2 separate regions of the Homo sapiens genome follow, and region 2 is linked to region 1. Evidence: promoter capture Hi-C in 16 types of primary human blood cells and fetal thymus (Javierre and others, 2016). All regions are on one chromosome and are shown on one strand. Each heading gives the region's core, a stretch centred on a gene start or on the middle of the fragment in contact. The rest is flanking DNA. Distances are from core to core; before and after follow the strand shown.

What was found. Contacts are between HindIII fragments. The CHiCAGO score rates a contact against its expected background, and 5 or more counts as called.
Region 2: a fragment that was not itself captured here is called in contact with the fragment with the promoter of MED22 in region 1 in 1 of 17 cell types (naive CD8 T cells); the score reaches 5.4 in naive CD8 T cells.

What each region holds. Positions count from the first base shown.
Region 1 is chr9:133,346,724-133,351,180 of GRCh38, reverse strand. It overlaps MED22 (mediator complex subunit 22), which reads left to right and starts at 3,050. Exons shown (of 5, transcript NM_133640.5): 1 at 3,050-3,259. It overlaps RPL7A (ribosomal protein L7a), which reads right to left and starts at 2,963. Exons shown (of 8, transcript NM_000972.3): 1 at 2,935-2,963; 2 at 2,139-2,259; 3 at 1,481-1,630; 4 at 1,129-1,269; 5 at 862-941; 6 at 454-584; 7 at 110-179. The coding sequence starts at 2,937. SNORD24 (small nucleolar RNA, C/D box 24) reads right to left here and starts at 1,785; the gene lies at 1,711-1,785. It overlaps SNORD36B (small nucleolar RNA, C/D box 36B), which reads right to left and starts at 1,087; the gene lies at 1,017-1,087. It also overlaps SNORD36A and SNORD36C. RefSeq lists enhancers at 2,542-3,011, 2,873-3,167. The HindIII fragment of the contact is 16,795 bases long and covers 1-4,457 here.
Region 2 is chr9:133,025,060-133,029,700 of GRCh38, reverse strand. LOC105376306 (a long non-coding RNA gene) reads left to right here. Exons shown (of 2, transcript NR_135119.1): 2 at 1,270-1,549. Among named protein-coding and RNA genes, the nearest start is that of GTF3C5, 3.6 kb to the left of the region's middle. The HindIII fragment of the contact is 1,244 bases long and covers 1,185-2,428 here.

The DNA.
Region 1 (4,457 bases), core at 1,801-4,300:
GGCTGTTCCAAGCTGATCGTCAGATAGAACTTCTCATAGGTTAAGCCAGCCAGTTATTTGGGAGAAAGATTTGTGAATGACAGTATTTTGGTGTAAAGCTGCCTCTTACCTCATCGTATCTGTCATTGTAATTGGTCCTGATAGCTTCCACCAGCTTAGCCAAAGCGCCTTTGTCTTCCCTAAAAGGCAGGAGGGGAAACAAAAGTGGGTTTTTTGCCTTAGTTTCCCTTTTAGAATGCAAAAATACCTTTTAGCTCAAGACAGTCTTTTGCCTCAGATGCAATGCTGACCACATGGTTTATTCAGGTGAAGAAATTCTTAACCATCATTGGCAAAAGTTCAGATAAATATATTTCTTAAACTAAAAGATTGGCCTTTAAGGCAAAAGGAAACAACTGTGAGGCATGGATTAAATGAACTGGGGGGAAGTTTGGGGCCAGGCTGTGTACTTACGAGTTCACCTGTGTGAAGGCGACAGTGGTGCAGGTCTTCCTGTGGACTAGACGTCCCAGTCTTGCCTTTCCCTTGATAATGCAGTAAGGGACCCCCATTTTACGACACAGGGCAGGCAAGAAGACAACCAGCTGGAAGAAAGCATTAGCTGAAGACTGTATTTTGACCAAAAGCAGCAAATTTCAGTTAGCTTGTAACAATTGCTCAGGGTTAAAAAGCTCATGGATTCGCACTTCAAGGTTGAATTCAGTGAGAGATTCACATCATTGCAAGAGCCACGCATGTGTTGGATCTGTGTCAGTACTGCCCTCACCCACTTCGGTCCCATCACTGACTTGGCATTAGGTCTACTCTCTCTTCCTGGTACTGCCAGAAGCCCTTGGGTTAGCAGTCAACAGGCAAACGCACCTCGATGGGATCCACGTCGTGTGCAATCACCACCAGCTGAGCTTTCTTGTTCTCCACCAAGGTGGTGACGGTGTTAACTCCTAGAACACACAACCACTTTGTGAGCACTCACAGGGCCTGCTCTAGTCACAAGAAGCTGCTGGGCTCAGCTGCTGACTCAGTGTTAAAAAGCTCGGTTTTACTCTTCACAGTAATTTCAGGCCAAGAAATTTTACATCACTGCAACAGCCCGCCCCCAGTGTTCACCCTAAGGTGGGGCCTACTCACCTGCTCGAAGGACAGGTGGTCTCTTCGTTGGGACGTCCCCTTTGCCAGCAGCCTTCTTCTCGGCCCGGGCCAACAGTCTCTGCTTCTTCTCTTGCTTTGTCTCTGGTCTGTACTTGTGGGCCAGCTTAAGCAGCTGAGTAGCTGGAAAAACACTCTTCAGTTTAGGCTTGGAGTCAAGGTTCTAATCCTTGTCACTTAACACTTAATAACAAATGCTGGACTGCGGTCCTGCTATATGACTATAATTTAATGACAACTGCAGTTCAAGAAGCCTAAGACCATCCCCCTCATGTTCTGGATGAAATAAGGAATCCTTGCCTGAGAAACTCCTTTCCACGCCACAGAACCTCACCTGTTTGGCGGTCCAGGGCCTGGGTGAACTGGTTAATCGCAGGAGGCACTTTCAGCCGCTTATAGAGGATGGCTCTCTGCCGCTGCAACCTGATATAGCGGGGCCATTTCACAAAGCGGGTGAGGTCTCTTTTGGGCTGGATGTCCTGTCCTGAGAAGTAAAGGGTGACACCGAGTGAGGCTCAAATTCCATGTCAAGTTCATGTCTGGGGCCACTAGGAAGGGTGTTGGTGCATCAGCGATCTTGGTGGTTTAAAATGTCATCACCATCTCTCAGATAGCAAATATTCTTTTACATCATCTGCACACAAACACCTGAGAACAAAGAGCACGATGCTTTTCCTCATCTAACAAGAAGCCAAGGTGCCACGAAGTACAGCAGAATTGCAGTCCTAGTACCTCGCTGCGACACTGCTACTGTACTTGTTTCCAGATGGCTAAGCTGAATTCAAGGCCACTACCATATTGAGCTGAATGCTCGCTCAGCAACTCCCAATGAAAGCAAGAAGCATGTATCATTGCCCCCGTCTCTAAGAGACACAAATTAAGGACTGCGACCACTTTACACCCACTAAAACCTACAAGATACAACACAACCCAATTACCACCTTCCCTTGAGAAAAACATAGACCGTTTTCATTCTGCCGTTTGTTACTTACCAATGCCAAAATTCTTAGGCCTTTTCTCAAACAGGGGATTCACCACTTTCTTAGCCTCCTGCTTCTTCACGACAGCTGGGGCCGGAGCCACCTTCTTTCCCTTGGCCTTCTTTCCTTTCGGCTGGGCAGAAAGAAAACGTCAGTTAAACCGCCGCCTCCACTCGCTTCGTCGGGGGTAGGGCTCAGGCTGGCTCCTCCAAAACAAGGGACGCTGACAGCACCTGCCTGAACTAAGCTGGCGAGCAGCTTTCTGCAACCCCCCAGCACCACCCCTCGACAGGAGCATCTCACATTCAGCCGCACAAGCATGCAGCCCCGGGAACCCCGAGTGGCCAGAGCAAGGCTAAGCCCGAGACCACGCTCTCTTCGCGTCGCCCACCCAGGAGACACCCCGGACTCATGACTCCTCTGAGTCGCGGCCCCACAGGCTCTAGAAGCAACAGGGGCGGGCTCAGAACTCGTCGCTCACAAGGCCTCTGGAGCGGCCCCCAGCAAGCCCGAGAGACGCTAGGGCTCCGAGCCCCGCACTGCGGTGCTCCAGGCCTGCGACACCCAGCCCTGCGACACCGGGAACAACGCATTCCGCTCTCGGCCGCCCGGGGCTCTAGTCCATCTCAATGTCTCCGTGCCACACCAAGTGGGGCTCTAATCCACCTCGGTGTCTCCGTGCCACACCGAGTGGGGCTCTCCTAGCGCCAGGAGGAGCAGGAGGCCCTCCGAGGCCGCGCCTGGAGGAGGATGGCAGCGGATACAGCCGGAACCTGGCTATAGTGCCACGGAACTACAGCTCACTCACCATCTTGGGCGGCGGGAGGAGAGAGAAAGGAAAGGGAATTGTGGGTAATATGTATGCGGCCTCGGAGATCGCGAGAGTTGATACCGGCACGGGATTTCGGATTTAAAGCAACAGCATTCCTATAAAGCTAAAAATCGAGGCGGGGCCGAGAGGCTGCGGCGGCTGACTAGGTTTTCGGACCGCGGCGCGGCGGGGAAGAGAGACTGCGGCGGGAGGGCCAGGCCGTGGGAGAGACGCGGGAAAGTGCGGGTCGCAGAGGCACTTGACCACCCCGCCCTAGGCCGACCCGGCGGACGCGGCGTCTGGTGTGCGGGCGCTGGGGCGGGTATGAGGGTGTGGTGGGGGGTGGGGATGGAGGGGGGGTGGGTGTGTGGGCGGGAGTGGGGGTGGGTGGGTGCGTAGGCGCTGGGGTCGGAGATCCCCTTTCCTGCGTGTGACTTATTTCCCACACCCCGCCAAAAATGGGCACAAACAATGCGAGTGCGTCCAGGAGTCCGCTCGGTCGTGCGCCAGACTCCGAACCTAGGGGGCCCCGGGCCCTCCCTGAGCACCGCGCGCAAAGGCCCGGCCCCAGGGCCAGGCAACTCCAGCGCCGAGGCCGTCCAGTGCGGCTGGAGGGCAGAGGCCGAGAGGCGCGGCGCGGAACTTGAGCCCCTTGTCCCGGCGCACCGGGGAACCATGAGGGATGTTAAGCGAGGGAGTGGAATTACCCCCCTTTTTTTTTTCTTTTGGAGACGTAGTCTCCCCCTGTCGCCCAGGCTGGAGTGCAGTGGCGCGATCTCGGCTCACTGCGACCTGTGCTTCCCGGGTTCAAGCGATTCTCCTGCCTCAGCCTCCCGAGTAGCTGGGATTACAGGCGCCTGCCATCACGCCCGGCTAATTTTTGTATTTTTAGTAGAGTTGGGGTTTCACCATGTTGGTCAGGCTAGTCTCAAACTCCTGACCTCAGGTGATCCCTGCCTCGGCCTCCCAAAGTGCTGGGATTACAGGCGTGAGCCACCGCGCCCGGTTGGAATGACCACTTTTTAGGACCTCTTCCCTGCCGCGCAGAGACTGGAGGGAGCGGGGCCCGCAGTGCAGGGATGAGGTCTGGAGCGGGGCAGCCTGAGTGGGAGTGGAAGGAAAGCGTGGATGTAGGCGGTGCAGAGGGGTCGAATTGGAAGGACTCTTCGGATGGGAGGGCGTGGCGAAGGTGGCGGCGGGCTAAGAAGTTAAGCCAAGGGCTGGGGACGGGGAGCTGGTGTTGAGTTTGCAGGGCTCCCTGGGACACGCTGTGGGCCTGGACGTGAAGTCTGGACTGGAGCCCTGGACAGGGCTTGGAGGGCTGGCCAGGAGTTCCAGGATGAGCTTGCTCTGGCAAAGGCGGGGCCAGTCCTGGCACCCCCTGCGGTGTCTGCTGATGGAATGAGTTCATCTGTGTTTCAGTGATTGACTTTATTTGGCAGAAAGGGAATCCCCAGAAATCTGCGTGTTCTGCTAAGGTTGGGGCATAGAGGGTGGCTGGGGTAGACTCTGCCTGCACT
Region 2 (4,641 bases), core at 557-3,056, 320 kb after region 1:
TGGCCCCTTGAAGGGTTTTATGCGGAGCAGTGATCCCATTCATGCATTTGAAAGACCTCTCTGGCTGTTGTGTGGAGAACAGATCAAAGGGGGAGAAAGTGAGTTCAGATAAACCAGCTCCGAGACTGCATAATCCAGTCAAGAGATGAAGGGACTGGGTTTGAGAATATTGGGAGATGAGAATCATGGCCCAGCACAGTGGCTCACGCCTGTAATCCCAGCACTTTGGGAGGCTGAGGCGGGAGGATCAGTTGAGCCCAGCAGTTGGAGGCCAGCCTGGGCAACAGGGGAAGACCCCATTTCTACCAAAAAATACAAAATTAGCCGGCCATGGTGGTGCATGCCACAGTAGTCCCAACTACTCAAAAGGCTGAGGCAGGAGGATCCTTTGAGCCCTGGAGTTGGAGGCTGCAGTGAGCTATGATCATGCCACTTGCATTACAGCTAGAAATTAGTAAGAGCAAGTGACCCCTTGGGTATGGGTACCCCGTTTCTGAAGTGATTTTTTTTTTTGAAAGACACGATCTCCCTCTGTCACCCAGGCTGGAGTGTAGTGGTGTGATCATGGCTCACTGCAGCCCCGAACTCCTGGGCTCAAGTGATCCTCCTGCCTCAGCCTCCTGAGTAGTTGGGACTACAGGCGTGCACCACCATACCCGACTAATTTTGTATTTGTGTGTGTGTGGCGACGGGGTCTCACTATGTTGCCTAAAGTCATTTCTTTTTGTTGTTTGTTTGTTTTGAGACAGAGCCTCACTCTGTCACCAGGCTGGAATGCAGTAGCACAATCTCGGCTCACTGCAACCTCCGACTCCCTGGTATAAGCGATTCTCCTGCCTCAAACTCCCGGGTAGCTGGGATTATAGGCATGCGCCACCACGCCCAGCTAATTTTTGTATTTTTAGTAGAGATGGGGTTTCACCATGTTGGCCAGGATGGTCTCGATCTCCTGACATCATGATCTGCCCACCTCGGCCTCCCAAAATGCTGAGATTACAGGCGTGAGCCACCGTGCCCAGCCTGTGATTTCTTAATCAGAAGAGTACCTGATTGCTCTCCTTGGGTTTAAGAAGGCAGAATAAATAGCTACATGAATTCAGCCCACTGAATACATTCTAAAGTGTAACCTCAATGTGAAATATATTGTATTGTAATTGGAAGGCTGGGTCAGGAGCCCCAAAGCTTTGAAAGAACACCTCCTGAGAGTACAGTGGGAAATCAACCACCAGCAGATGATGGTTGAGCTAGAAGAACCACGTGTTTCCACAGGGAGCTGCACACGAGGACCCGGTGGTCCCTGACCTGCCCTCTCCAGGGGGGACCTGCACTTTCTGCCACCAAAGAGGATTCTCTGTAGGGAGGCCAGGATGATTCTCCAGAATTTACCATGCCTTGAGATGAAATTTCCTTTCAAACTTCCTTGTGTCCTTTTGTCCTCATTCCATGTTCACCAGTCTTCTGACTGTTTCATTTTCCAGAAAGGAGAAACTGAATAACATGTATATTTTAACCTTGCCTGCAATTGTAAATCAATAAATTGGTGTATTTACATCAGATCCCTGTGAGTTTGGTGCACATAAGACAGTCATGAAGACTTGGTCACTGTTGGTAGAGTTGGCCAATAAAATATTGAACACAGTTAAATTTGAATTCATGCAATATTTGGGGCATATTTATACTAAATATGTGTTATCTGAGATTCATATTTAGCTAGGTGATTTTTTAATTTGCTAAATATGGCACTCCCACCTCCGGGTATTGAGATTGAGTTTCTGAATTTGGAAAGCTGATTCCAAACCACCTGGAACCTTAGTGAGCCCACCATGCAATCCAGTGACCCTCTAGTTTGTCTGCTGTATTTTTCCTCCTTACTGAAGCAAGAGTGATCTTTCCAGAATGAGATCGCAGTCTGTCCCTGCCTCCAGTGACTCCCCAGCATCCCTGGCCCACCACCTGGCTAACTACTCCTCTCCTTTAGGTTGTTGCCTTAGACTTCAATTTGCCTGGTAAATCCTCCCTGACCCCAAAACACTAGTTTGGTGCCATCCTCGCTGCCCGGGGCCCCAAACCCACTGCATCATGGAGCCGGAAGCACTATTATTTTTTTTCTTTTTTACTTCTCCACTTGAGTGGCAACTTTCTGAAGACAGGGACCATGTCTGTCTTATTCACCACTGTCTTCCCACTGTCACCACTGCTTTGCATGGGGCTGAGCACCGAGCAGGTGCTCAGGAAGTATTTATTGAACAACTGAATGAGGCCACTTGTCTTATTTGAGCCTTCAATCGAGCCCCGGGTCAGGGCATGGTCATAGGGACACTAAATCAAGGCTTGTCAGACAAGGAGTGTCCCTTAGTGCACAGGAAGTGAGGAGGGGCTGAGTGTGAGGGGAAGACAAGGGACCAACCCCAGGGCATCAGACCAAGCTTTTTGAGATTAGACTTGGTCCTGCCTGAGATCCAAAGCGGGAGGTCAGAGGCAGGAGCAGTAAGGCAAGGCTGGGAGCAGAGACAGGCCAAGAAAGATCAGGAACCCAGTTAAAAAGTAGCTTTGGCTGGGAGCGGTGGCTCATGCCTGTAATCCCAGCACTTTGGGAGGCTAAGGCGGGTGGATCACTTGAGGTCAGGAGTTCGAGACCAGCCTGGCCAACATAGTGAAACCCCATCTCTACTAAAAATACAAAAATTAGCCACATGTGGTAGCACATGCCTGTAATCTCAGCTACTCGGGAGGCTGAGGCAGGAGTCTCGCTTGATCCCAGGAGGCAGAGGTTGCAGTGTGCAGAGATCATGCCACTGCACTCCAGCCTGAGTGACAGAGTGAGACTCCATCTCAAAAAAAAAAAAAAAAAAAAAAAAAGAAGTAGCTTTAACGTTCTCCAAAACCTTGCAGCATTCAGAGCAGGCAGCTGTGACAATATTTGTGCACTGAGGGGACACTTTCTCTGCCTGGATTCAGGGCATATGCTATGGTTTGAAAATGTCCCCCAAATTTCATGTGTTGGAAACTTAATTTGTCTGCCCTCATGAATAAATTAATGTTGGCTCTGCCCTCATGCATGGATTAATGTCGCTGTTGTGGGAGTGAGTTGCTTATCTCTTTGTTATAGAGGCAAGCTCTCTCCGGCTCTCTCTCTCCTGCCCTCTTGCATATGTGCCCTCCACCATGTTATGGCACAGCAAGAATGCAAAGACCCTTAGCAGATGCTGCCACCGTGTCCTTGAACTTCTCAGCTTCCAGAACTACAAGAAACAAATGTTTTTCCTGTAGGAATTACCCAGTCTGGGATATTCTGTTATAACAGCAGAAAACAGACTAACGCAGCATGCTTCTCGCATCTTGCCCTGCTGTGGGGTGGCAGATTTCATCCCACTGGACAGAAGGGCACTACAGCTCTAGCCACCTCCTATGGGCGGATTGGGCACACTGGGGGTGGGGGGCAGCCTCTATGTGCCACTTCCACACGGGAGAGATTCGGAGCTCCTGAAGGACGCTTGGGTGCTGCAACCAGCGTTTGTTGCTCAGGGAAAGGGTGGATGTAGGGACCAGCCCTACAGGGTCTGTGGGTTTTTCTCCCCTTGTGCGGAGACGAGAGATCGTAGAAATAAAGACACAAGACAGAGAGATAAAAGAAAAGACAGCTGGGCCTGGGGGACCACTACCACTGAGACGTGGAGACTGGTAGTGGCCCCGAATGCCAGCCTGTGCTGTTATTTATTGGATACAAGACAAGCGGGCAGGGTAAGGAGTGTGAGCCACCTCCAATGATAGGTAAGGTAACGTGGGTCACGTGTCCACTGGACAGGGGGCCCTTCCCTATTTGGCAGCCAAGGTGGAGAGAAAGAGAGGGAGGAGACAGCTTACACCATTATTTCTGCATATCAGAGACTTTTAGTGCTTTCACTAATTTTGCTACTGCTATCTAGAAGGCAGAGCCAGGTGTACAGGATGGAACATGAAAGCGGACCAGGAGCATGACCGCTGAAGCACAGCATCACAGGGAGACGGTTAGGCCTCCGGATAACTGTGGGCGGGTCAGGCCCTCAACAAGAGGTGGTGGAGTAGAGTCTTCTCTAAACTCCCCCAGGGAAAGGGAGACTCCCTTTCCCGGTCTGCTAAGTAGCCGGTGCTTTTCCTTGGCACTGATGCTACTGCTAGAACACGGTCCGCTTGGCTACGGGCGTCTTCCCAGACGCTGGCATTACCGCTAGACCAAGGAGCCCTCTGGTGGCCCTGTCTGGGTGTGACAGAGGGCTCATGCTCTTGTCTTCTGGTCACTTCTCACCATGTCCCTTCAGCTCCTATCTCTGTATGGCCTGGCTTTTCCTAGGTTATGATTGTAGAGCGAGGATTATTATAATAGTTGAATAAAGAGTAATTACTACAAACTGATGATTAGTGGTACTTACATATATCTATGATCTATATGTAGTATAACTCTTGTTATTTTATATATTTTATTATACTGGAACAGCTTGTGCCCTCGGTCTCTTGCCTTGGCACCTGGGTGGCTTGCTGCCCACAGGTGGGGACCCCTGGCACAAGACACAGAAGGGTGCATCTTCCACCACCACCCCTTGGAGCTGAGCTCCTCTTTCCAGACTCAGGGACCCTCCTGCTGAAGGGACCGAGGAGCTGGCC